Linked DNA regions of Homo sapiens: all the other regions are linked to region 1. The links are contacts of gene promoters, found by promoter capture Hi-C in blood cells and fetal thymus (Javierre and others, 2016). All regions are on one chromosome and are shown on one strand. Each heading gives the region's core, a stretch centred on a gene start or on the middle of the fragment in contact. The rest is flanking DNA. Distances are from core to core; before and after follow the strand shown. Region 1 holds the start of HSDL1 (hydroxysteroid dehydrogenase like 1). Region 2 overlaps MEAK7 (MTOR associated protein MEAK7). Region 3 overlaps ATP2C2 (ATPase secretory pathway Ca2+ transporting 2). Region 4 overlaps MEAK7 (MTOR associated protein MEAK7). Region 5 has its middle 15 kb from the start of HSBP1. Region 6 overlaps ATP2C2 (ATPase secretory pathway Ca2+ transporting 2). Region 7 overlaps CDH13 (cadherin 13).

Region 1 (3,853 bases), core at 225-2,724:
CTGCCTCCGGGGTTCAGGGAATTCTCCTGCCTTAGCCTCCCAAGTAAGTGGAATTACAGGAGCACGTCACCACGCCCTGCTAATTTTTGTGTTTTTAGCAAAGACAGGGTTTCAATATGTTGGCCAGACTGGTCTCGAACTCCTGACTTCAGGTGACCCACCTGCCTCTGCCTCCCAAATTGCTGGGATTACAGGCGTGAGCCACCGTGCCTGGCCATGAAGGTTATCTTTCAAGTCCATTCTGGCAAACTTTGGTGAGGGGATCACACACTGACCCCAGAACCAAGTCTTCATTCGGACTCTCTACCCTAGGTCAGGCACTGGACTAGACTCCAAATTCAATCAAGATGTCTTGCCCTGACACAACATGCAGTCTGGAGGGAGAGAAAGCCTTTGATCTTACATAGTGATAGCAATAAAGGGACACATTTAAAGCATCAAAGTTGGGACCAGGGAGAATAGCGTGGTGGGTTAGGGCTGGGGCTCTGGAGACCCAGACTGTCTGGGCCTGAGTCTGGTGGGTTTTGTTTGCTTGTTTGTTTGTTTGTTTGTTTGAGACGGAGTCTCCCACTGTCGTCCGGGCTGGAATGCAATGGCGAGATCTTGGCTCACTGCAACCTCCGCCTCCCGGGTTCAAGCGATTCTCCTGCCTCAGCCTCCCAAGTAGCTGAGACTACAGGCGCCCGCCACCACGCCCAGCTCATTTTTTGTATTTTTAGTAGAGACAGGGTTTCACTATGTTGGCCAGGCTGGTCTCGAACTCCTGACTGACCTGATGATCCGCCCGCCTCGGCCTCCCAAAGTGCTGGAATTACAGGCGTTGAGCCACCGCACCCGGCCAAGTCTCTTCTGTCACTGACTAGCCGAGGGTTATCTGTTTGGTGCAAGTTTTGTAACCTCTTAAGTATGTTTCCTCCTCAGTACGAAATGGCGAGAGAAGCCCCTACTGCAGAGCGTTGCTTGCTACCATTATTATTATTGTTATTATTTGGCTGTGAAGATCGGGTATGTGGTGTGGGAAGGGGGCTGGAGCGCCTAGCCGTGTCTGCCCCTCGCCCACCGCCCTCCCTGGGGGGCAGTCGGCACCTTCCTTGCAGCCCCCTCGGCCTGCGCTCCCGTGGTCACCCGCAGACTCCTCCACGCCGGGCTCCTGCGCGCAATCCAGCTCTGCTGCACCACCTGTCGCAGGCTCCGAGGGCTCAGGGTGCATGTTTACTTCGGCGACACCGAACGCCCCGCAGCTTTGGGGGGCCCAGGTTCGCGGCGGACGTCGCTACGGCCCCAGCCCAGCCAGAGAGTACCCTCTTTCCTTCTTCGCCAGCCGCTGGCGCCCTAGTCTTTACAGCCCAACGCTTCCCCGGTCGCCCAGGCAACCGCTGCGCACGCGCACTCGGGACGGACCGGCGCGCTGGGGACGCCGGGGGGTGGGGGCGGGTCTGAGACGGCTCCGCCCCCGGCGCGTACGCGGGTCACGTGAGGGCGCGGCGCGGCAGCAGCTCCGGCGGCCGAGACGGGGGCGGCGGCCGCGCGGGTCTGGCGGGACCGGTTTGGAAGACTTTGCCGGCCTGCAGGTACCGCGCCCCCCGCGCCCTGGGCGCCCTCTCGCGGTCCTTTCGCCCCAGACCCCTCCTCGGTCCCCTCAGCGCCAGCCGGCTGCTTGGCGAGACCCCTCTGAGCTCTCACCACGCCCCCCAGGCCCCGGGCCCCCTCCGCTGCATCCGGCCCCGAAGCCCCTTGGCGCCCCTGACCCCAGGAAATCTTCGTCCCTCCGTCCCGTGAGACTCCTTCCTTCAGACCAAAAAGCCCCAGCCCCGCCCCTTCACATCTCAGAGCCCCCCTTCCCCCGGCTCCATCCTCACGCCCCCCGCCGCGGCGCTGCACCCCTGTTCTCTCTCTTCCCCCGGGCCTTGCCCCCCAAACCGCGAACCCCGTTGTCGCCGGCGCATGCCCTGCCCTCCCTGCAGCCTCTCACCCGGCTCCTCCCCCGAGCGGCCCCAGCAATCGCCTCCTTTGTCGGTGCTTCTTTATTCTCATTTCTGAACGATTTGGTTTGAGTTGTTGTTGCCGTGTTTTTCTAAAATGGAAATATGCAGCGGTCGTGGGTTCAGCCAGGATTTCCGAGTTTGCTCGTGTTGACTGGGCCTTGCCGGGTGCTGGAGGGGAAGGGCTGGGAAGAAGAACCAGGCAGGTCCCCGTTCTGAACGTGCCACCCAGACGCAGCCCCAGAAACCGGATCGCTGCAGCGCCCCTCGGCGATCCCAACATGATGTGTACAGGTGACTGCGAGGCAGTCGGGGGGTCTCACAGTGGGCTCCCTGGACAGGACTCTGCGCCTTGCTATACCTCCATCTGAATTGCAGGTAGCCCCTTTCTGAGTTGTGGGGTCTTGGGTGTGCGACTTTACATCTATAAGACTCAATTTCCCCATCTATAAACGGGAGAGTCTGACTGCGCTTTATAAGATTAATGAGAGAATAAAGTGAGACAATAGGAATAAAGCACTTAGCAGAGTCTTTTGCATAAAGTGAGCTCTCAATTTTACTCTGACCGCCACAGGAGAGAGAGAGAGAGAGAGAGGGAGGGAGGGAGAGGGAGAGGGAGGGGGAGGGGGAGGGTGTTGATTGATTGATTGATTCAGACAATCTCGCTCTGTCGCCCGGGCTGTAGTGCAATGGTGCCTGCGATCTCAGCTCCTGCTACCTCTGCCCGCCATCCCGCACCCCGGGCCCAAGTGATTCTCCTGCCTCAGCCTTCCGAGTAGCTGGGATTACAGGCACGTTCTACCACACCCAGCTAATTTTTTTTTTTTTTTTTTTAGTAGAGACGGGGTTTCGCTGTGTTGGTCAGGGTAGCCTTGAACTCCTGGCCTCAAGTGATCTGCCCGCCTTGGCCTCCCAAAGTTCTGGGGTTACAGACATGAGCCACTGTACCCGGCCAAGTTTGTGGTTTTAATCACTGCTGGAATATTCTAGGGCAACAGAGTTGAACATATTGGTGCTACTTTTTTTTAAAGTAGGTTTTCAAAAATCGAAATGACTTACGCATGACATAAAATTTATCATTTTAGCCATTTTACAGTGTATAACTCAGTAGTTCTTGCTATAGTCACAATGCTATGCAACCATCACCAGTAACTAATTCCAGAACATTTAATCACCTACAAAAGAAACCCCAACCCCATTAACAGTCATACCTCTTTTCTCCCCCTGTCCCTCAGCAGCCCTAAGTTATCTTCTGTCTCTATGGATTTGCTTATGCTGGACATTTCATACAAGTGGAAACATACAACATACGGCCTTTTGTATTTGGTTTCTGTCCTTTAGCATAATGTTTTCAAAGTTTATCCATGTTGTAGTATGTATCAGTACTTCATGCTTTTTTATGGCTGAATAATACTCCTTTGTGTGGATAACACCACATTTTGCTTATTCATTCATTTGTTGATGGACATTTTGTTTGTTTCTGCCTTCTGGCAGTTGTGAGTAGGCCACTGTGAACATGCAAGCAGGAGTTTTTATGTGAGCAAAAGTTTCTAATTATCTTGGGTATCTGCCTAGGAGTGGGGTACTCTGAATATTTTAATTCTTACTGCATAAATACAGACATGATGGTGAAGAGTGTTGGATCTTGGATGAGAATCCAGGTTTCTAATTCCATGTTGCTGCTCTTTAGGCTCAGCTTCATTGTGCGTTTAGTCCTATACCAAAAATTGGCAGTGAAGGTAAAGACATCCCAAAAAGTCTTGATACACCAATGCTAACTTTGTCATAGTGCTGACGCAGAGTATGAAAAGCTTAAGTTTTTTTCTCAAGAGTGAAATTTGAGCTTTGAACACAAAGCAGTATTTGATTCT
Region 2 (3,357 bases), core at 157-2,656, 360 kb before region 1:
CGAGGTGCTTCCCCCAGGGCCAAGGCCAGCCGTGTTGAAGGGGGATTCAGAGCCTGTGTAGACGCGGAAAGGGAGGGGTGCCTCCACGGAGGAGGCGAGTCTGGGGTAGACACTGAAGTGTGTGTGGAGGGGGTTTTCCTTCTTGTATTCTGACCACACCCATCTGGGCTTTTCCAGGACAGTGAGCTGATAACTGTTCCCAGGCCATGTAGGTGGCCAGCACAGGACAGGTCACCTTCTGGCCCACAGGAACTTCTTGCCCAGGCTCAAGCTGCCCCTTCGCACAAGGGCCTCTGGGCTCTGAGACACAGACAGGACTTCGAAGCCTGTCCAGATGAGGCAGTTGGAATCTCCCCAGCTTGTGGGGGTACGGAGGGACCCTTGTGTGGCTCTAGGGATGCGGGGCCCTTGGAGTAGAGAGTTGGAGCTTGGCAGCCAGGGTGGGAAGCAGCCATGTAACAGCCTGTTGGAGAAGCTCTGAGCAGGAGGTGACTAAGCCATTCCTAGGATACTAGTGGGAACCTTGGGGGCCATCCTGCAGACAATCGGTCCCTGTCCACCCCTCCATCACGGAGGCAGAGCAACCTTCCGTTTCTTCCAAGCAGGGCAGTTTCTCTTGTTCTAAGACAAGATCCCAAGGAGCCATTCTCTGTTGTCTTGGGCCCATTATTCTGTCTCTGACCTCCAGTAAGCAGATCAAATGCCCTGGGTTACCTTATTTAATCTTCTCAACCTTATGTTAAAGAAATTAATTAATGATGCTTATTAAAAGCACATTAATTATTGAAGACCATTGCAATGGGTATAGGGACCACAGCAATGGGATTTTGTAGTAAAGGAGAGAGATTGGGCTCAACTCTGATTATAGCATGGGCAAGTGGGAAGCCAGGAAGCAGGGTGGGGATCAGTGGATGGAAGATGACTGAGGAAACATCAGGGCGCTAGGGTGGATTCTGGGTAAGCTTACCTAGCAGTTTGTTACTGAAGGCAGGCCAGGGTGATCAGACATCACCTAGGGCAAGCTCGTCCAACCCGTGGGCCATATGTGGCCTAAGGCGGCTTTGAATGACATCCAACACAAATTCATAAGCTTTCTTAAAACATGAGATTTTTTTTTTACCATATATGTAGATATATGCACTTATCAGTTATTGTTAGTGGGTTTTATGTGTGGCCCAAGACAGTTCTTCCAGTGTGGCCCAGGGAAACTGAAAGATTGGATATCCCTAACCTAAGCATTAAACCTGGTTAGATAGCAAGTGAACAGATAATGGTGATCAAATATCAAGGATGAGTGGTTTTGTGGGTTTTTTTGTTTGTTTGTTTTTTGTTTTGCTAAAACCAGATTTTACAAAGAGGTACACAGATGGGCCCAGGAGCCTGACTAAAGTCTGGTCAAGCAAAACATCTTGGTCACTTATTATGGGCTGCTGGAACTTTTGTTTGTGTTTTTATGAGACAGAGTCTTGCTCTGTCACCCAGGCTGGAGTGCACTGTTGTGATCTTGGCTCACTGCGACCTCTGCCTCCTGGTTCAAGCGATCTTCCCACCTCAGCCTCCTGAATAGCTGGAACTATAGTCACACGCCACCACACCCGGCTGAGGTTTGTATTTTTGGCAGAGACGAAGTCTCACTATGTTGCCCAGGCTGGTCTCAAACTCCTGGCCTCAAATGATCCTCCCAAAGTTCTGGGATTATAGGCTTGATGATGGAAAGCTTTCAGTCCCTGGCAAGTTTTCTCGGTGTCATGGGACTTTCACAGTACACCTGGGTACATGGGGTGGCCTCTTCTCTGCAAAGCTGTGCATAACACAACCCTACATTGGCCTCGAGACTTCTGTGGGTTCCCTTGTATCAAGTTCCGCTTCCATTTTGTTCCGCTGCCCTACATCCTCAGAAGCCAGGTTTTCTCACCTTCAGCCCTACCGATGTCTGGGACGGACACTTCCTCGTCGTAAGGCCATCCTGTGCACTGTAGGATTTTTAGCAGTATCCCTGGCCTCTGCCTGCTAGATGCCAACGGCACTCCCCTCCCCCAGTTGTGGCAACCACACACTTTTCCAGTCATTGCCAAATGCCCCTGGGGGACGAAACTGCTCCAGTCGAGCTCCACTGGTACAAGCAACCTTGATGTGCGCTGTCAGCACCAGCACCAGCGTGCATTGTCTTTTTTTTTTTTGAGACCGAGTTTCACTCTTGTTGCCCAGGCTGGAGTGCAATGGCATGATCTTGGCTCATTGCAACCTCCGCCCCCTGGGTTCAAGCAATTCTCCTGCCTCAGCCTCTCAAGTAGCTGGGATTACAGGCATGCACCACCACACCCGGTTAATTTTGTATTTTTAGTAGAGACAGGGTTTCTCCATGTTGGTCCAGCTAGTCTCGAACTCCCGACCTCAGGAGATCCACCCGCCTCGGCCTCCCAAAGTGCTGGGATTACAGGCGTGAGCCACCACACCATTGCCATTTCTTTATCTTGCCTGGCACGGGGCTCTCAAAGGAGACGGGCTGTCCTTGAGCCGTTCTGAGACGTGTCCCTTCACCAGCACTCTGCAGGTACTAAGAATGGCAGTGCTGTGGACAGCGCTGTGTTCTTAGGGGCTGCCCACCTTCCCACCTCACTGGCACCAGCCCTGGGGTTCCTACTGGGGCCTCCCATGCAACCTCCTCTCTCCTGCTTGAAAAAGTGGCGTTGCCAGCCTGGCTCTGCGTCCAAGCCTTTCCTGTCATCTCCTGGGCCTGCCCTGGTCTGCGCCGCTTCTGTGCATTTCTGGGTTCCTGTCCTGCCTGTTGGCACTTGCCCAGCCCTGCACCTTTCTCCCGGCTGTCTGGGGTTGGTGAGGGCTGGCCAGGCTGCACCCTGCTGCTGTTCTCCGACCACAGTGGGGGAGCCTGTTTCTGGCAGAAAGTGGGAGTTGGGGTGGGATGGAAGTGAGGGGCTGGGTGGAGTCAGGCCTGGGCCCCCTTCTGCTGCAGCCCTCTGCTGCCCTCCCCCACGTGCCCTGAGTTCCACCCTTGCCTCGCTGATCCCAACGCTCTTGCTTATGCCCCGTGCGTGCTGTTCCCACTTCCTGGTGAATCACCTGTGAGTCTCTGAAGACTCAGCTGGAATGTGACCTTTGGGACCTTTTCCACTCTTCACTCTTCTTGTTACACCCCCAGGCCACACCCATCCCCATGCCCTTGTCTCTGTTTCCCCTCTTTTTTTTTTTTTTTTTTTTCTTTTTTTTTTTGAGACGAGTCTAACTCTGTTGCCCAGGCTGGAGTGTAGTGGCGTGGTCTCGGCTCACTGCGACTTCCGCTGTCCGTGTTCAACCAATTCTTCTGCCTCAGCCTCCCAAGTAGCTGGGATTACAGGT
Region 3 (3,776 bases), core at 51-2,550, 300 kb before region 1:
GCATGCTGCCTGACTCCTTGGGACGGGTGACCTCCTTGACTAGGGACCCTGCTTGAATGCACTTAAAAGTCAATGTTACATGCAAGCTTAAAGCTCTGGGCCGGGACCACAGGCACTGACCCCGCAAACCGAGCGACCCCATCCTCTTCTCTTCCTGCAGGCAGAATGACCTCTGCTGGGGCGTCAGCGGCAGGGGGATGCCCCCGTTGTTGTACATGGTGCAGTAGCGGATCACCTCTTCCAAGGCCCCTTTCATGAAGTAAATGTCTTCCTGATCCTTAGAAAAGACAAAGGGAAGAAATCCACTATCACTGGAAGCCTTGGTTCATACTGACCATCACCCCACTCTGCACAAGGTTACAAAGACACACACGGGGATCTTTGCAGCGGAGTTATTTATCATAGGCTGGTGCTGTTCACAGGTGCTGGACAGGTTCGCGAAGTTCTAGAATCCATCCATGGAACGTTTTGCAGTCCAGAGAAAGAACAAGGCCAATCTTCAACCTGTACTACCCTTGTTCTTTTTTCAGTTCCCTTGTTATGGTCACTCAGAGCGTCTTGTATGTTTCATGCACGGGAGGTATCATCCCAGCTGGGACTGTGCCTTTGGGGGTGTGATTAACTGGGAATATTTCCATTAGACTGTTGCCTCCCTAGGGCAGCACCAAGTCTATTTTGTACCCACCCCCAGCACTTGGCTTGTAATAGTGAAGCCACATGAGTAGCTGATCATTTTTCCTGTGTTTTTCTTAAGCTCTGTCATGACAAACATGTAGACTATGAACTCCACGGGGGGAGGCCCTGGGTCAGTGAGAGTCACACTGTACCCCTAGCCTCAATACCGGACATACCTGGCTCACGTGGGTGCACAGTGTGAATGTAACACTGTTATAAGATAATATAATATTAATTATATATGTTATTAATATGTAATTAACATATTAATGTTATTAATAAATATAATATTAATTACAGATGTTAATACATTAATTATAGTACATATGTATTGTATATTATTTATATGTATTATATTACATTATATTATTTATATGTATATTATATATTATATATAACTAATATATTCTTATACAATTATAATATATATTACATAATATATATTAAATAATATATGTAATATATGTAATATATATTACATATTATATAATTAATATGTTAATATAACAAGCTTATATTAACCAACACAGACATCTAAGACATAATATTAAAAGAAAATCTTAGGGGGAAAAAGCAAATTACACACACTATAAATAGTGACCTTGTTTTGAAAATACCATCCAGATGTTGTCGTTTGCATATTTAAAATCTGCAATGCTCCATCCCAGACTTAAAATAGAATTACCTCTGGGTGGGTGGTGGGGAGGGAGGGAAGAAGGGTGGAATGAAAGAAGCTTTCATTTTTATGTCATATTTCTATACTTTTTCAATGAGAATATATTACCATTGCCTTGCAAGGGAAAAGATTTAAAGGTCTAAAAGTTTTTTGAAAATCTATAATCCCTTCTAAGCCCCTGAAATGTACATGTGTCCATCCATGCACAGGAAGGGCCTGGCATGAGCTGGCTGAGCTGCCCACAGCCCTGAGTGGGAGCTGAGCAGTCTGCGTGGGCAGACATGATAGATTCTAGAAAGAGTGGGAGGGAAGAGGAGGGGTGGAGAAAACGGTAGAAGGCAACAAAAACTTTAAAAAATAGCTTTTAAGGAAAATCTGAAAAGCCACAACAAATCTGAAAAGAAAATTTTAAAAATCAGCTGTAATGTCCACCCGGGGTGGCCATAGCTTGGTATGTGTTCCTCTAGCCAGGGACAACACGTGTGCACACGCTGATGCACCACACAGACACGCCTTCCGTACTGAAGGATTTGCTCCCCAGTATGACGGGGAGATGAGCTAAGAAGTATAAAAAACTTAGCACAGGGCTGCAAAGAGAGGACTGGCAAGTTGGCGACTGGTGTTAGCAGCAGGGCCTCAGTCACTGGATTACAGGCTGGTCGATCTCAACATTTGCACCTGCATCAGAATCTGCAGAAAATGAAGGTTACTGGGTCCCACCCCTGGACCCTTCGACTCAGGAGGTCTGGCATGGAACCTGAGATTCTGCATTTCTAATAAAGTCTCGCGTGGTAACAACCGCTGCTACTCCAGGGACCCTGCTTTAAGAACTTCTGTTTTAAACAAAAAGCCAGAAGCAGACCCAAGAGAATCAAAGGTATGATGGTGATTAAGTTTTTCCATGTATTTGGAACGTCACAGAAGCAGCCAGGAACTTTCAAATTATCCTTGAAGTCTGCATTTTGCTTTATCTCTGGGTGGGGGCCCGGGCAGAAAGAGAGAAGAGGTTGAAGATTGAAAGGTCTCACCTCAGTCTTCAGACTGCATTTCACCGCCATCCACTTCTGCTCTGAACTGAATGGAATCTCTTTTTTTCTTATATATGAATTTTTAATATCACTTAAGTCCATCTAGCATAATAAAATGACACATTTTTAGTGAGTCATCCGAAGCCAATCTCTATACAAAGCTCAGTCCATTTAAATTATTCATTGTTCAAACCACCTCTGGCAGATAAGAAATCCAAGCATTTAGCACATAGAAAAAAGGCCATTTCTCTTGGAATGTCCCACCTAGAAAAAAAAAAAAAAGTCTCTTCTCTTGGCTGAAGGGCAGACAAGACGGTCTTTGCAACAGCTTCTATCTGAAATCTGCTTAGAAACAAACCTGCAGTGTTTCTGCCGGGAGGAATGTTTCAGACTTGAAGGTGTAGCAATTTCTCAGACGGAACCCCCTGAGTCAGTGAGACAGCCCTGCGTCCAGAACATGGGGTCCTTGCCAGCCCCCCGTCCACAGCCTGGGGTCCTTGCCAGCCTGGCCCTTTGTTGCTCTTTGGTGGCTTTTGGATCAGTGATGTGACAACTCAGAATCTCAGTTTCCCCAGGTGTAAACCAGTCATGACCCATGCATCCCACTGTCCCACAGGGGGTGAAAATGCGGTGCAGCAGGGGCACAAAAAACTACTCCTTTTACGTAGAAAGTGCAGATATGCGTACAATACAGTGTATCTACCATATTAAATTTCATGGGGAGGGAGTGGGGTGATTAGGGAAGAAATGCCTAAACCATCTCCTTAGTGGGGTTGAATTGTACCCCACAAAAGATATGTTGAAGTCCTAACCTCGGAACCTCTGAATGTGACCTGATTTGGAATAGCGCCTTTGCAGATATCGTCAATTTGAGGCTATTAGGGTTGGCCCTAAGCCAACATGACTGGATATAAGAGGAGGAAGGCCGGGCATGGTGGCTCATGCCTGTAATCCCAGGACTTTGGGCAGCCGAGGCGGGTGGATCACGGGGTGAGGAGATCAAGACCATCCTGACTAACATGGTGAAACCCTGTCTCTACTAAAAATACAAAAAGTTAGCCAGGCGTGGTGGCAGGCGCCTGTAGTCCCAGCTACTTGGGAGGCTGAGGCAGGAGAATCGCTTGAACCTGGGAGGCGGAGGTTGCAGTGAGCGGAGATCAAGCCAGTGCACTCCAGCCTGGGCAACAGAGCGAGACTCCGTCTCAAAAAAAAAAAAAAAAGAGGAAAACGCTGCGCAGAGGCGTGGCGGGGAGCACCTCGTGACAGAGACAGAGCTTGGTGTGAGAGACCAAGGCAGGGATGCGTCTGCGAGTCAAGGAACGCCCGGGGCTGCCAGTAACACCCAGAAACTGGGAGACGGAGCCTGGCCCTGCTCACACCTTGATTTCAACTTCTGG
Region 4 (3,923 bases), core at 733-3,232, 340 kb before region 1:
CCGAGCGTCAGGTGCTGGTGGCCGCACGCTTGGGTATTGTTTTATGGGAATGAGATAAGGAGTCCTCGTTGTTGGTGTCACTTTTTTCCACAGATAATCATAACTCATCAGGTCCTTGCCCTGTATTCTGGGAATGATGCTTCCCCCTCCTGGCTTTCCCTATGGAGAACAGCCCTTGGGGGTGGACTAGGATCTGGGCCTATCGCAGCTGAGGCCTGAACTCTGTGGCCCTGCGACCTTGCTCCGCAGCAAGACGGGCTCAGGATTGCAAAGCAAAGGGCCGCTTACCTGAAGTCCAGTCGGGGAGAGCGGGGCGGGGGCAGTGCAGACGGGTGTGACCCAGCTGTTCATGGCGGCGTCTAAACCTGCCCTCAAGCCTCTGGGGCTGCTGAAACCCAGTGAAGCAAGCCTGAGTCTGTAGCCCAGAGTAAAGCCCTTCACTTAGCTGGTTCCAGTGGAACTTTCTAGCCTAACTATCCTCCTTCCTCCACCCGATGCTCTCAAGCCCCACTGTTCCGTACCTGTCCCACACCTTGTCCTCATGGGATCCCTTCTCCATGGGGACTCTTGCCCCAGCCAGCTCTGTTTCAGGGCCTCCCTCTTGACCTCGGAAGCTGCCTCCCAGAAGCCTCCCAGACCCTGATGGCAGAGGCCCCCCAGCGATCTTTCTAGATTGGAGCCTTGGGCGGTGTCAGCCCACACTCTACAGACTGAGCCCTGTTGGCTTGCTCGGGGCCATCGTCCTCTTCCAGCCTCCTGGTCTTGGTGCCCCCTTCTTATCTGCGTTCCATCATGGTGCCCCCAATTTGCTTCCTGTGACTTCTTTCCCACCTGATGAATAGCCCAACCCCAAATTCCCATGAGCTTGTTTCTCTGCAGCCTTCCAGCTTGTTGTGACAGTTGTGTATGCTGGTGTCGAGGCGGGCAGCCCTTCCGGCCAAGTCCTCAGAACATGGTGGGAAGTGTCCCTCGCTGGGAGCTCCGAGGACGAGGCCTGGCCTACGGCCCTGTCCCCAGTGCTGAGGTGCTTATGGAGTGGAGGAGTCTCTGAGACTGGGGACCCATAGTTTCCAGAGTTTTGACTGGTACCTTTCTTTTAATGGCCTGTGTGCCCACCCCATGCCTTTGGGCGAGGGTAAACTACTTCCTTTCGTAGGCCGTGCCCCTGGGGACAGCTCTGCAGCTGCAGGTTTTCTCTCTCTGCATGGTACGTTCTTTCAGGCCGGGGTCAGCACTACGCAGCGTCACTTGCCTGCTCAGGTAGGCTGTGCTGGAGGCCTCAGTCTCTGCGGAGTGACCACCTGCCCCGTGCTCATAAGCTAAAGGAAGCCTGCTCTTTCTGGCTCGGATGTGCTTGGCCAGCCTGAACTGATTCCAGCAGACAGTGGGCAGAGTTCTGATCTCTGCTCCCCTGGCCAGAGCTAAAAGATGTCCCATTCCTTATTAGCTGTCCCTCTAATCCCTGCATCCCCAGCTCATCCACCTGGGTCCCTAGCAGCTTGTCCCAAACCCTGATCTGCCGACACCTGGACATGGGTGAGAAGGGTCTTGGCCCTGTTGCTTCCTGAGCTGCAGCTTACCGGCATTTCCGGCCCTGTGGGACCGGCTCAGACACCGACCCTGTTTGTTTTGTTCTCTGGCTACTTTCAGGGGACAACAGATGCTTCCTGTTCTCCATCTGCCCCAGCATGGCTGTGTACACACACACGGGCTACAACGACCACTACATGTACTTGAACCATGGACAGCAGACGATCCCGAACGGACTGGTGAGCCCGGGCAGAGCGTGGTGGTCTTGCCTTGGTGATGTCCCCCAGCAAAGGTGTCAACCCCGAGGCTCAGCTCCACAGATCAGGGCAGGGCGCGTGGCATTCAGTTCCTCACGCACGCCATGTCCAGTTCCTTCTGTTTCCAGGGCCGGTGCTGGGGGCAGTGACAGCTGGGCCAGGGTTTCCCTTAGAGAAGGATGTGGCCTCTGCTGGGGCTTCTCAGTGGTTTGTGTGCAGATGGCACACTTGGCCCATTTTTCTGGCCCTCAGATGATTGGTTTGTAGCCTTTGTGGCTAGGGATGGTGTCAGCGCCAGACCTGTCCCTGCGCGTCGCTGGCCTGCCTCATACGTGGGAGTGCTGGACCAAGGGGAATGGACGGCCGGCAGCTCATGAGACAGCATGTGGGGCCCCAGTTGGGGTGACCGTGGCTCCTGTCCAGCCCTCGCTTCAGCTTGGTGACATGGCACAGGAAGCAGGGGGAAGCGGGGGAGGCCTAGGCCGGGTGCAGGGAGTGGGTGGGCACGGGTCCAGGCAGGCCCGAGGGCAGGAGTTGGGGCAGCATCCACGCCGAAGCTCAGCTTGCTCCTGCCAGCTCCCCTGCTGATTTCTTTCCTCTGCTGCTTGACAGAAAGCTCTTTTCTTTTCTTTTTTTTCTTTTTGAGATGGAGTCCACTCTTGTCCAGGCTGGAGTGCAGTGGCGCGATCTCGGCTCACTGCAAGCTCCGCCTCCCAGGTTCACGCCATTCTCCTGCCTCAGCCTCCCAAGTAGCTGGGACCACAGGCACCCGCTATCACGCCTGGCTAATTTTTTTGTATTTTTAGTAGAGACGGGGTTTCACCATGTTAGCCAGGATGGTCTCCATCTCCTGACCTCGTGATCCACCCGCCTTGGCCTCCTAAAGTGCTGGGATTACAGGCGTGAGCCACTGCGCCCAGCTGACAGAAAGCTCTTATTGGGAAAATCCAGCCCTGTTTCTGCAGAGCTGAGGGCAGAGAAGGCTGGTCCGATATAGGGACCAGCGTCCTTCCCAGGCTTACCACACTGCTGCCCTGGAGAGAGGGAGGGGCGTGGCCAGGCCACCTAGAACACCTGGCACCTTCTGGAAAGGGCGGTCTGGTGGCGGCAGGAGTGAGGGTGCCAGCCTCACAGGCAGCACCCGGCAGGCCCCGGTCATCGCTCGTCATTGGCCCTGAGAGAGCGGCTCCGCGTGTCAACTCTGGGCAGTGTGCTCGGGTCTCTGGTTGCCCAAGGTCAGAACTAGGGCGTGCCAGGTGTTACAGGCCTACCAGGGACCAGAGGAGGTTCTCTGCAGGGTGAGATTGAACAGCTCAGAGCCCAGCCATGTGACTGAGGGTGGAAGGCACAGGGGTTCGCATCCGCCTCCGGGTCTGCCTCCGCATCCTGTAAGCCACACACTCGGAGCTGAGTTTCCCAGCCTGTCTTGGGGTGAGGATCGCTGCCCGGAAGCGGGGCACTGGGGCCCCAACACAGGGGGTTTGCAGTGTCAGCTTCTGTGTTCACCTCTCCCCTTATCTTAACTGGGCGGGGCCCTGGGCCCTGGAGGTCTCTTTCTCTATATATATTTAACATTTTTAATTCTCTGATGTCACTTGTGCTTTCAGCCAGCAAATCTTCTTGAGAAAGAGCCATGGGGTGGGTGTCTGGAGACATAGATGACTGTTCTAGTAACTTGGCATGGGATGCTTAAATGGCAGTAATTGATATATTTCACAGTTAAGGAAAACAAGATGATGGCATTCACCACTCACCCGCCCCTGTCTCAGGCTGGTACTTAAGGCGAGAGGCTGGCTTGTGGTATTTGATGTCCACAGACCCTGAGGAGTTGCTGATGCTATTCTCTGTCCTGGCTTCCTTTGCAGGGTATGGGGGGGCAGCACAATTACTTTGGGCTTTGGGTGGATGTTGATTTTGGGAAAGGACACAGCAGAGCCAAGCCCACGTGCACCACGTACAACAGCCCGCAGCTGTCGGCTCAGGAGAACTTCCAGTTTGATAAGATGGAGGTGTGGGCGGTTGGAGACCCCTCAGAGGAGCAGTTGGTGAGTGGAGCTGTCCTCTGCATCCCAGGATGGCCCCTTGAGCCTGGGGGCCTTTCTGCATTTTCTTACCATTACCCCTTTACTCTTCTGT
Region 5 (3,866 bases), core at 116-2,615, 320 kb after region 1:
AAATTTACGTAGCCTGTAAATAGCACCTGATCCCACTTAGGTAGCTCTTCTCCCCCATCCTCAATTCCAGTTCTTTGATGAGTGGGTTAATCCCATGCCTGGTCTCAGTGTAGGGTGCTGAACCAGGCCTGGCCGATGAGATTATTCCACTCCTCTTGGCTGGCTTCCGTGACTGGCTCAGAGATAGGCATATACCCCAAATCAGACCAAGGAGATGCAACCTTGGGACATTTGCGGGAACTTTGGGAAACAACCAGGGAAGCTGTTGTTGTCCAGGGGTTGATGCCTGAGGGGTTTGAATGCAGCTGGAACTGCTTGTGGCCATCTTTCCATGGTGGCCAAGGCATCATACAGGATGGTAGAGTTGAGTGGCAGCAGCCATTCCTGATGAATTTGAGCAGCTGGATCAGCAATGTCTGAATTGACCCCCAAACCCCAGCTTCCAAGTGTCAACAAATGCCCTTTCTTGCTTCAGTGCCTTGAGGTAGATTACTGGCCACTTGCAGCTGAAAGCAAGTGATAAAGAATGTAAATATCCTGAAGAGAATTTCCTGTCCCTTGGTTCCTGAATCACCTTATAGGGATTTGCAGGGAGCTGAATATTCAGTCCGGAGTGAGAGATGCATTCAAGGAGCAAATGGCACTGTTACCCGAGTCAGTCTTGTCTTCAGTCAAGATGACATCCTGAGATCCTGAGATCTTTCCCCCCAATCAGTACAACAGCAGACCTTTGATACTGACTCTATAGGATCCTTTTTTTAAAAAAATTTTATTTATTTATTTATTTTTGTCCGACCACAGCTTGCCAGGATATGCATCTATCCAATGATCAAATGTTTGCTGAGCATCTACTTCGTGCCGGGCACTGTGCTGGTACAGAACTTGTGAAGATGACAATGTTTCCAGGTCAGCCCAGAGAAGCCAGTGCAGCCCATTAGACGATTTTCAGAATCATGGGCTGCAGAGTATGGAAGCATTCTATTTATTCAATTATTATTTCATGTAAGCAGTTGTAAGAATATTTAAACCTACTGCACACGTTAATAAACAGATACATAGTAGGTAGCCAAATTTTACCACACTAGTCATGAGACAAAACTGACACAAAGGAATGTGCAATATTTTTTTTTTTGAGATAGGGTCTCATTATGTTGCAGTGGCACGATCTTAGCTCACTGCAACCTCTACCTCCTGGTGTCAAGTGATTCTCCCACCTCAGCCTCCCAAGTAGCTAGGATTATGCAGGCATGAGCCACCACACCTGGCTAATTTTTGTATTTTTTGGTAGAGATGGGATTTCACTGTGTTGGCCAGGCTGGTCTTGAACTCCTGACCTCAAGTGATCCACCTGCCTCGTAAAATGCTGGGATTGCAGGCATGAGTCACCGCACCCAGCCGGTGCAATAATTTTTAAAACAAATTTTGGCTGCTGGTGTTACTGCCAGGGAAAAATGGATATTTCCACAAGGACTCTGATGGCAATGCTGGCCTCTTGAAGGGCTTTGAATGTTGATAATACAGGTTCTTTGAGGACAGTTTGCTTTTGAGACACTGGCCCCTCTCAGGGCGAGCCTGGAACCTTCCTCTCCTGGCAGTCTCTTGTGACCTGTGCCATGGCAGAGTCAGAAAGATCATACATCAAGCAGAGTCATATGTTAGTAGTTGACTGTAGGTAGTATGCAGGTGTTCACTGTAGAAATTCTTTTAGTTTTGTTGAATGTTTAAAATTTTTCAAAATAAAATGTTGGAAAAAATGAACTTGATTCAAATTTATTTCCCTCCTTTTTTTTTTTTTTTCAATTTTCTGTTTTTCTTTAGCTTCTCTTTGATTACTAATGTTGCCAGTCCCAGAGCAATTGCTTTCTGCAAACAAGTTCTCAGAAGCCTCAGATGAATTTTGGACCTAATTTAATTCCCAATTTATTTGCTTATGAAAAAAAAAAAAGGCTTAATTTCGTCACACCAGATCAACCCTTCATGTACCAGCTATGATTGCTTTTAAAAAGCTGGCTATAAGATGCCAAGCCAGGCAGCATGAGATAGTCCAAATGAATTCATGAAAACTGGGGAAAAAAAGGGGTCTTCAGAGTCTGCAGGACAATGGCAAAACCCATACACAGACAAAGGGAGCCCGGGAGGGGACACGCACGCCAGGATAAAGGGAGAGCACGGATGGTGCCTGTGATCAGGTACAGACAGGAGCGAGCCGCTCCGATGAGCAAGGGTGAATGGGGCCAGTGGGAGCCTCTCTCTGTACCTAACACGTGGCTTGGTGGTTTCAGGTATGTGGGCTGGGAAAACAGGCACAGAGTTGTCCTTTGACTTGTGTCCCCCGCAGAAGATATGTTGACATCCTCACCCTTGGGATCTGTGAATGTGACCTTATTTGGAACTAGGGTCTTTGCAGATATAACTAGATAAGATGAGGTCATCATGGATTTGGGTGGGTTTTAATCCAACAACTGTGGTCCTTATAAGAAGAAGTTTACTTGGACACAGACACATGGAGAGGAGAACAGAACGTGAGGACACACAGACATGCGGAGGGAGGGAGGCCATGTGATGACGGATGCAGAGATGGGAGTGATGCAGCTGCCAGCCACGGGATGCTGGGAACCACTAGGAGCCGCCAGGAACCATTAGGAGCTCCAGGACCTGGAAGAGGCAAGGAAGGCCCTCCCTAGAGCCCCAGAAGGAGCACAGCCCTGCCCACCCCTTGATGTTGGATGTCTGGCCTCCAGACCGTGAAAGGACACATATCTGCTGTTTTTTTTTTTTTTTTTTTTGAGACAGAGTCTCACTCTGTCGCCCAGGCTGGAGCGCAGTGGCGCCATCTCGGCTCACTGCAAGCTCTGCCTCCGGGGTTCACGCCATTCTCCTGCCTCAGCCTCCCGAGTAGCTGGGACTACAGGCGCCCGCCACCATGCCCAGCTAATTTTTTGTATTTTTTAGTAGAGACGGGGTTTCACCGTGTTAGCCAGGATGGTCTCTATCTCCTGACCTCGTGATCTGCCCGCCTCAGCCTCCCAAAGTGCTGGGATTACAGGTGTGAGCCACCACGCCTGGCCCATATCTGCTGTTTTAAGGCCCCCGGTGTGTGGAGCTTTGTTAGGGCGGCCCCAGGACAGTCACACACAGGGTAATGGTGGAGCACGAGAGAGGTCTGCAGAGTCGCTGCTGCAGGGCCCAGCATGACCTTGGTCTGCCCTTGGTGTCAACACCCACAGTCCTCCTTGCTTGTTGCTTCTGTGTCTTGACCCTAAACAACCAATGCCTTGTCTTAGAGCAGAGCACTGTGTCCGTCCACTCGCCCTCTACTCCTCTCTTCTGCAGGCAGCCCATAGACACAGGGGGACTCTGGAGCCCAGCTTAGTCTGGAATCCGACTGTATCAACGTTATCAGTAAAGAACAAAAAGCACCCAGGAGGAGGTGGGTCAGCTGTGGGACCTCATGCAAAGACAGCTGGGGAACAACCACGGGCACTCTGCCTCCTGCCTTCGGGGTGCTGGGTCCACGCCGTGGCTGGTCTCTGCTGGGGAAATAGGTGCATCCTGCTTGCTTTGGGAGCACGTGCTCCAAGCTGCTTTCTCAGTGGAGTTCAGCCGCCTGGGTAGACTGGCCAGCAGAGAGGACTCCTTCATACTTTGATTTCTCACTGAAAATGACTACGCGGTCATTTTGGAGCCCAGTGAGGGGAGGAGCCATGCCATGGAACTCAGTGATGTCACCAGGGCCGGGCCAGCCTGGGTGACCTGTTTGGGTGGGTGGGCGGGCAGCTGGTGCTTCTCAGGTGCCTTCCCTCCTCTTCTTGAAATTATGTCCTGGGCTCAGAGAAGACGAGGCTGTCCCCCAGCTGGCCCTTAGC
Region 6 (3,853 bases), core at 195-2,694, 320 kb before region 1:
TTTCATCATTAAGTATGATGTTAGCTATAGGTTTTTTGTAGATGTTCTTTATCAGGTTGAAGAAGTTTCCTTCAATTCCTAGTTTGAGAGTTTTTATTACAAATGGAGATTGAATTTTATCAAATGCCTTTTCTGCATTAATTGATATAACCATGTGTTTTTCCTTCTTCAGACTATTAATATAGTGAGTTATATTGGTTTTTGAATGTTGAACTTTTCAGTTATATTGGTTTTGAATGTTGAACTTTGGAATGCTTGAATTCCATTCCTCAATTAACCCCACTTCGTCCTGGTGTCTTATATTCTTCGTACCTGGCTAGATCTGATTTCCTCATATTTTGTTGAGGATTTTCGTGCATATATTCATAAGGGATGTTGGTCTCTAGTATTTTTCTCTAGTTTTGGTATCAGAGTGATTGTTGACCTTATAAAATGAGAAGTGCTCGGTCCCCTTTTATTTTTGGAATTCAGTGTATCGAATTGCCATTTCTTTACAAGTTTAGTAAAATTCACCAGTGAAATCATCTGGCTTCAGAAACTGCCTTTTTTGGAAGGGTTTCAACTTCAGCTTATCTATTTAATCTTCAGTGAGTTTTGGTAGTTTTTGGTTTTCAAGCAATTGGTTTATTTCATCCAATTGATTGAATTTAGGTACATAAAGATGTACATAGTATTATTTATTATTATTGTTGGAATATCTTGAAGGGTTTGTGGTGATATACTTTTTCATTCCTGACATTGGTCATTTCTCTTCCCTTTTTTCTTTGATAAGCTTATTGCAAGACTGATAGTTTTATTGATCTCTTCGAAAAACTAGGTTTTGATTGATTTTCCTCTATTTTTGCTTTTTCGTTTGATTTCTGCTCTTTATTTTGGTGACTGTTTCTATGCTACTCGTGAATGGGGTGTTCTACAAGTGTAAATCAAGCTAAGTTGCTTAATGGTGGTGTTCAAGTCTACTGTGTCCTTAATGAAAAGAAGGTCTTAGTTTTAATGTAGTCTAATTTATATTTTATTGTTAGCATTTTGTGTCTTACTACAGTTTTATCCCTAAAGTTTACATAAGCAAGAGTTCAGAGTAATCGACCCTGGTATTTTGATTACTTAATTTTAAATGGGAAGTAAATGTCTCGGGCCAGCAGTGTGCCCAAGGATCCTGAAAAGTAGAGCAAGAATTGTCCCTGACTCAGGGGGAGGCACTCCTTAGCAGACTGTGGAAGTGGCACACTTCAGCCTTGACCTCTTAGTGGTTCCAGGGGTTGGCAGCTTCTAGGAAGACAGCCCCACAGCTCAAAAGGTTTCTTCTCCAGCCAGCCCTGTGTCTGTGTCTCACTAGGAATGGCCCATCGCTGCATCTCCTCCTGTGGCCCTGGTGTCACAGGTTGTAGCCAGAGAGGGGCTTCTTCCCAGGCTGTGAATCCTACTATGGAGGACTTTGGACTCTGCCTGGAACCCTGGCAGGGGTCCACTCTGACCTTCCTTATCTTCGTCTGACCCAGCTGTTACCACCCCTGGTAGCCCTTTTCATAGCTACCGTGGCTGGGTGCAACGGGTACTTTTATCTGACAACTTGGCCAGGCCAAGTTGATTTTCGTCAAACAAACACTGGTCTAGATGGCGCTGTGTAACTAACATGTAAGCCCGTAGACTTGAAGTAAAACAAACAGTTTATCCTTCATAACGTGAGTGGGCCTCATCCGATCAGTTGAGGACTATAAGAGGAAAAGGCTGAACTCCCTTGAGGAGGAGGAAATTCTGCCTCCAGCCTGCATCCCCAGCTCTTCCCTGGGTCTCCAGGATGCTGGCCTGCCCTCAAGATGTTAGACTTGCCAGCCCCCAACATCCTATGAGCCAGTTCCTTAAAACAAATCTCTGCATCTCCCTCCATCCTGTTGGTTCTGTTTCTCTAGTGAGGCCTGACTAGTAAATGGGGGGTTCTAGCTCTGGCCTTATTTCCTGAGAGATGGGGACGGAGTTCCCCTTCTGGTTCCCTTTGGTGGTTCTGGCGTGGCTTCAGGCAGAAGAACAGCATGGAGACCTCTCTCCTCTGCCATCTGTCACGTGGAAGAGCAGATCGGTTTTTGGAAGTCTTTGGGGCAGTGGGAAATCAAGCTTGTCTGCAGGCAGCAGGAGATACTACAGTTCCTGGTTCCGGAGAGAAGGGCCACTTTCTGAGAGAGACTCTTGCTTTGTTGCCCATGCTGCAGTGCAGTGGTACAATCTCCACCTCCTGGACTCAAGCCATTCTCCTGCCTCAGCCTCCCGAGTAGCTGGGATTAACAGGTGTGCATCATCACGCCTGGCAACTGTTTTTTTTTTTTTTTTTAAACTTTTAGTAGAGACAGACAGGGTTTTGCTGTGTTGGCCAGGCTGGCCTCAAGTGATCTGCCTGCCTTGGCCTTGCAAAGTGCTGGGATTACAGGCGTGAGCCACCATGCCCAGCCCTACTCTTTATGTCCAAAAGCCGAGGCCTTCCTGTAGGCCATTCATGATGGATTGCTGCTCACCCCACGTGGCCATTAACACATGGCTGTGGGTTTCCAACCTGGCCCCTTGTATGAAAAACCCTAGGTAAACACATCAAAATAATTATCCCCCGGCATAGCACTTTATTTAAAAGTCCCTCATTTTATGATGAGGAAATGGGGCCTCCAGGAGGGCAATGGGCAGAGTGTGACCATCCTACCCACTGCCTCTCAGGAGCCCCTTGTATCTGCCACGAGTGGCCTGCCTCACTGCAAGCTGTGGCACAGATACGTAGTTAGACATGGTTAATAAAAATCATTGTGATTTAATAAACAGTGTGGTGTTTCTGTACAGGCCCCTCCCTGTCTGTCCCACAGCCAGCGGGAACGCTGGATGGATGTGGGCCTGGGTCCCTGGAGCCCACGAGGTTCCTGCAGCTTTCCTAAGAGGAAAAACTGATCCGGTGATGGAAGGCTGCGGCCTCCTAAAAGTCTCCCCTGACGAGGAGACACGGCAGGGGCCACAGTCACAACCAGATCGAGATGATTAGGGAAGGTGCCGCGGAGTGCGGTCCACTACACATCTTCAGGGTGCATCTGGACTCTCTTGGGGCTGCAACAGTATTTTTCACATAGTTTGAGGAGCTCTGACAAAATGAAGACGGATGAGGCCAATCCAGTTAAAAACAGCAAATCTGCCAAGGGAGAAAACAGAAAAGATTCAGGACGGGCTGCAGCTCTGTTGCGCCGGCAGGAAGCGCCTTCCCTGCCAGTCCTCCTGATAAAGTGAGAGGTGCGGAGGACCAGCCCTTTTCATTCCCCTGAAGGCAGGGAGATCTTCCTAACCCAGAATCCAAAATGCTGCAGTTCCAGAAGGGCCTGCCTGTGGTTCCAGGCAAACACCAGGCAGCTCCAGAGCACAGGGTGGGTCTGGCAGGCAGCTGGGAGCATGTTATGGACTCGGGCTGGAAGGGGAATGAGTTTCCTTTCCCTACAGCAGCTGTCCCAGTGCCCTGCTGCTTGCAAATGTCCTGAGTGACCAGTCTGGGCTCCCTGTCCAGTGCACCCCGACATGTTCCCTGGGATGAATTCCCAGCGACATGTTCCCTGGGATGAATTCCCAGCGTCTCCCTCTGCTCCTGTCACATGCTGTTTTGAGGAACCATCCCTGGCTCCCTGTTGATGATTCCTGATGTACGGGCTGCCCAAGCACAACCCCTTCAGGCGTGGGAAGCCGACTTCCTTCCCGGCGGGTGGAAACAGCCAGTGAGCAGAGTGTTTTGGGGGGTCCTCTTGTCTGTTCCTACAGGGCATTCACTGGTGACCCACACTGACACTGCTTTTTGGAGGACAAGGCAGAGTTGACCATCCCAGTCTTGCCTGGAGGT
Region 7 (3,922 bases), core at 121-2,620, 340 kb after region 1:
CCCAGGTTCAAGAGAGTCTCCTGCCTCAGCCTCCTGAGTAGCTGGGATTACAGGTGCCCACCATTACACCTGGCTTAGTTTTATATTTTTGGTAGAGACGAGGTTTCTCCATGTTGGCCAGGCTGGTCTTGAACTCCTGACCTCAGGTGATCGGCCCACCTCTGCCTCCCAAATTGCTGGAATTACAGGCGTGAGCCACCACATCTGGCCCCCTCCTTTTTTTACAAAATGATCTCACTAACCTTCTTGCTATCTTCTCTCTCTTTCTATCTCTCTCTCTCTATCATCTATCCATCTATCCTTCTATCATCTATATATCTGTTTTTCCAAATCAGAATGATTGACTTTTATGAAAGAAGCAGAAGAGAGCCAATTATTAAGCAGGCAGCACTTGGTTTTAGTCTTGGTTTTTAAACATCATAGGCTAACCTGGTGTGGAGTCCTGATAAGTAAGCAACAATGAGGAAGGGGGGTCCCAGGTAGGGAACAACTGTTCCAAGAGACAGCTAATCACAAACAAGCCGCTGGCACAACTACCTCACTCCAAGTGTAACATCCTCCAGCACAACCCTATAAAACTTCCCTCCAGCCCCTGCCTCTTTCCAGACATCCCCTTCTCTGCTGTGCTGCCTGTTGCTTCCTTGCAACGTACTTTCCCTTGAATAATCAGCCTTTCTTTACCTACAACTGTCTTGGTAAATTGGTAAATTCTTCTTCTTCTTCTTCTTCTTCTTTTTTTTTTTTTTTGAGACAGAGTCTCACTCTGTTACCCAGGCTGGAGTGCAGCGGCGCTATCTCGGCTCACTGCAACCTCCGCCTCCCAGGTTCAAGCGATTCTCCCGCCTTAGCTTCCTGAGTAGCTGGGATTACAGGCATGCGCCACTGTGCCCAGCTAATTTTTGTATTTTTGGTAGAGATGGGGTTTCACCACTTTGGCTAGGCTGGTCACGAACTCCTGACCTCCGGTGATCTGCCCGCCTTGGCCTCCCAAAGTGCTGGGATTACAGGCGTGAGCCACCACGCCCTGCCGGTAAATTCTTTTACCATCCACAACACCGGCACCAGCCAGTTGCACCCATGACACTGTGCACCATTGGAAAAAAAGGTCCCTTTGCTCTGTCACAGTGTTTAGACCAGACTGTACTAAAGATGGTCTAAGACTAAACACACAAGTTAAAAATCCCAGATAAGCTTTATTTGAATGTTTCACAAACAAGTTGCACATTTCTCTGTAACTACATAGTAAAGCAAATGTTAGTTTACAGCTCAGAAACTGTAAGCAATTCAGCAGTGAGGGCCCAAAGGAGCGACATCTGCCATAGACTGAATATTTTAACATGATTAACTTTTATCCCTTTTGAAAAGTGTGTGTGAATAAAAAGCATTTAAAATTTCTTAAAATTTTTATCTGGGGGGATACATAAAATTTTGTCATCAGGACAGTGTTGACATGTGCATGACAACACAGATATAACTCTCTAATAATAGTCTGAATTCATGTGTACGACAGATATAGAATGGCTTTAGTACTCTCTAAAGAAAAAGCTTTTTAAAAAGTAGCAAAAAAATAGTCTCCAGTTTATTTTCATAGTGCTTCTATAAGCCCCTTTCTCCAAATCTTCATAGCTTCAGAGTGAAAACCTCCCTCGTCCTACACCACCCAACGCTTTTCACCATCTCCCTACCAATGAGACGGCACGTGGAAAGTCAAATAAAATGGTTCAAAGGCGTATCAAGCTCAGCAACCCTCCAACGATAGATGTGATGATAGCAACATAGTATGAGAGAGAGGAAATTTTTCCGCTTACTTAATTTGATGAGTATCTCAATTATTTCTGCTTAAATTATAGACTGACTCTTCTTAAATTATATAATTGAAGTTCTTATCTGAAACCCTCATACACACACCCATTCCCACCATTTTTTGCTGTCTCTCCATGTCTTGTATATGCTTTCATGTGAACACGGTCACAACTGCAGAATTTTTTCAATAGTGGGCTAATCTATTAGCAATAGGAAATATAGTAAGGGTAACACATTGCATATAGTAAAAGAATTGTTAATTGTGTTAGATGAACCATTTTGAAAGCATTTTATCATTAGACTGTGAAAATTATCAAATCTCAACAGTCAGTTAAGGAGAGAAGATGGAGGTCTTTATGAAAGATGTAGCCAGATTATTAGATTATTATTCTTAGTATTTGGTAAACAGAAAAGGTAGGTGGCTTTTTTAGTGCTTGGGTTTCCTGTTGGTGTGACTTACCCTGTTGACTCATGTTTAAGGCAGCTACACGTAAACAGATTTATGGGCTACCTTTACAAAATCAGCAACTACTTAGAGATCCTTTAGAATTTGCCCCTTTGAATGATTTATAGCAAAGCACAGTGCAAACCCTTTGAGACCCCACCCCACTTTCTCCCTCAGTTTTCTCTCCCCTCAGTTGGTTTGGTAGTGAATGGGTACTCTGGAGTTCATAAATTTCCTTTTCTTTCTTTTTTTTTTTTTTTTTTTTTGACGGAGTCTTGCTCTGTTGCCCAGGCTGGAGTGCAATGGCTCACTGCAAACTCTGCCTCCTGGGTTCAAGCGATTCTCCTGCCTCAGCCTCCTGAGTAGCTGGGGTTTCAGGTGTGCACCACCACACCCAGCTAATTTTTGTATTTTTTAGTAGAGATAGGGTTTCACCATGCTGGCCAGGCTGGTCTTGAACTCCTGACCTTAAGTGATCCACCCGCCTCTGCCTCCCAAAGGGCTGGGATTACAGGCATGAGTCACCATGCCCGGCTACTTTTGATTAACTGAGATGTTAAATTAATCTAGGAGAAGCCCCTCATCTACCTGCTAACAAGCCATGGAAGGGAAGGGGCAAATAATTACGTTATCTTGCACAGGAAAAATTTCTAAGGTCTCAATATTAATTTAGAACGATGTTAACATTTTTTTTTTTAACAGAAAGCTTTCAGATTGAAGAAGTATAGCATGAACTTAATAATAGGTAACAGAAGATACTGTTAGTAAAAGGTACTTAATAGTAAAGGGTACCTCATAGTAAAAGGTACTGTTGCTTAACAGTAAGTTGGTCTAGCTGCATAGTCACGCTAATGGAGGCTTCAAACGAGGGTCTTCCGGTCTGCAGTAGGCACTTTGTCTGGTTTTGCTCCTGGGTTGAGAGTGGCATTGTGATGTTGTCGGAAGAACATGAACCCTGGAGCCAGATAGCCTGAGGTTTGGTTCTGGAGGCCACTTACCTTGGGCAAGCCATTCAATTTTTCTGAGCCTCAGCCTTCTTTATCTGTGAGTTGGAGAAGATAGTAGTGCTTGTCTCATATGTTACTGGAGGGATTAATGAGTTACTATCTGTAAGGATTTTGTACAGTGTGGGCACATAATAAGCAGTTGATAAATATAAACCATTATTATAATTATTAATCACCTTTTTGGTACCATGTTCATACACCCCCTAGGAAAATTGTAGACTCCTTTCCTCAGAATCATCTGGAGAGCTCGTGCCTGGGTGCAACTGCACTAAATCCAGGATCAAACACAGACTTGTTAAAAATTTTTTAGTTGTCACATCTTAAGATTAAGACCCAGTGTATTTATTTGGGTAAAATGCAATTTGAGCTACTCTATGAGTGTGATGGTAGATGGTTGTTCCATTTATCAGACTGTTTTAAATGACATTCTGAAACTCTGGAATGAGCTATCAAAATTTCTAACGATGTTCTTTAAGAGCCAAAGTCTTATTTGATACCTACCATGAAATCTGGCTGGATTTATTTCGTTATAATGCTTAGATTTGCTGGTGTCGGCCAAGAGGCACAGCAGGTATATCTGCCTGGAATGATGCTCATTTGGAGAGAACTGGCGGTATTGAAGGTGACTTTTATTGAAATTAGAAAATGTGTGCATATTCTTATTAAA

The links. Contacts are between HindIII fragments. The CHiCAGO score rates a contact against its expected background, and 5 or more counts as called.
Region 2: a contact is called between a fragment that was not itself captured here and the fragment with the promoter of HSDL1 in region 1, in 8 of 17 cell types (M2 macrophages, M1 macrophages, total B cells and 5 more). The highest score is 8.0, in M2 macrophages.
Region 3: a contact is called between a fragment that was not itself captured here and the fragment with the promoter of HSDL1 in region 1, in 4 of 17 cell types (M2 macrophages, endothelial precursors, megakaryocytes and 1 more). The highest score is 8.4, in M2 macrophages.
Region 4: a fragment that was not itself captured here is called in contact with the fragment with the promoter of HSDL1 in region 1 in 2 of 17 cell types (M2 macrophages and megakaryocytes); the score reaches 5.7 in M2 macrophages.
Region 5: a fragment that was not itself captured here is called in contact with the fragment with the promoter of HSDL1 in region 1 in 3 of 17 cell types (neutrophils, naive B cells and total B cells); the score reaches 5.3 in neutrophils.
Region 6: a contact is called between a fragment that was not itself captured here and the fragment with the promoter of HSDL1 in region 1, in 2 of 17 cell types (M2 macrophages and M0 macrophages). The highest score is 7.8, in M2 macrophages.
Region 7: a fragment that was not itself captured here is called in contact with the fragment with the promoter of HSDL1 in region 1 in 1 of 17 cell types (total CD8 T cells); the score reaches 5.4 in total CD8 T cells.

What each region holds. Positions count from the first base shown.
Region 1 is chr16:84,142,798-84,146,650 of GRCh38, reverse strand. It overlaps HSDL1 (hydroxysteroid dehydrogenase like 1), which reads left to right and starts at 1,474. Exons shown (of 6, transcript NM_031463.5): 1 at 1,474-1,571. It overlaps DNAAF1 (dynein axonemal assembly factor 1), which reads right to left and starts at 1,343. Exons shown (of 12, transcript NM_178452.6): 1 at 1,087-1,343. The coding sequence starts at 1,210. RefSeq lists silencers at 1,290-1,739, 1,900-1,949, 2,000-2,049. The HindIII fragment of the contact is 7,366 bases long and covers 1-3,795 here.
Region 2 is chr16:84,500,968-84,504,324 of GRCh38, reverse strand. The region is part of intron 1 of MEAK7 (MTOR associated protein MEAK7); the gene reads left to right. Among named protein-coding and RNA genes, the nearest start is that of MEAK7, 2.0 kb to the left of the region's middle. RefSeq lists an enhancer at 1-256. The HindIII fragment of the contact is 627 bases long and covers 1,093-1,719 here.
Region 3 is chr16:84,445,034-84,448,809 of GRCh38, reverse strand. It overlaps ATP2C2 (ATPase secretory pathway Ca2+ transporting 2), which reads right to left. Exons shown (of 27, transcript NM_014861.4): 16 at 2,380-2,481; 17 at 121-277. Among named protein-coding and RNA genes, the nearest start is that of ATP2C2-AS1, 20 kb to the left of the region's middle. The HindIII fragment of the contact is 223 bases long and covers 1,189-1,411 here.
Region 4 is chr16:84,480,438-84,484,360 of GRCh38, reverse strand. MEAK7 (MTOR associated protein MEAK7) reads left to right here. Exons shown (of 8, transcript NM_020947.4): 6 at 1,651-1,769; 7 at 3,653-3,832. Among named protein-coding and RNA genes, the nearest start is that of ATP2C2-AS1, 15 kb to the right of the region's middle. RefSeq lists an enhancer at 597-1,098. The HindIII fragment of the contact is 7,713 bases long and covers 1-3,923 here.
Region 5 is chr16:83,820,965-83,824,830 of GRCh38, reverse strand. No RefSeq gene overlaps it. Among named protein-coding and RNA genes, the nearest start is that of HSBP1, 15 kb to the right of the region's middle. The HindIII fragment of the contact is 6,129 bases long and covers 1-3,866 here.
Region 6 is chr16:84,462,921-84,466,773 of GRCh38, reverse strand. ATP2C2 (ATPase secretory pathway Ca2+ transporting 2) reads right to left here. Exons shown (of 27, transcript NM_014861.4): 27 at 2,587-3,160. The coding sequence ends at 3,042. ATP2C2-AS1 (ATP2C2 antisense RNA 1) reads left to right here. Exons shown (of 3, transcript NR_146503.1): 2 at 3,775-3,853. Among named protein-coding and RNA genes, the nearest start is that of ATP2C2-AS1, 2.5 kb to the left of the region's middle. The HindIII fragment of the contact is 1,340 bases long and covers 775-2,114 here.
Region 7 is chr16:83,797,892-83,801,813 of GRCh38, reverse strand. It overlaps CDH13 (cadherin 13), which reads right to left. Exons shown (of 14, transcript NM_001257.5): 14 at 1,174-3,922. The region is part of intron 2 of CDH13-AS2 (CDH13 antisense RNA 2); the gene reads left to right. Among named protein-coding and RNA genes, the nearest start is that of CDH13-AS2, 4.1 kb to the left of the region's middle. The HindIII fragment of the contact is 354 bases long and covers 1,194-1,547 here.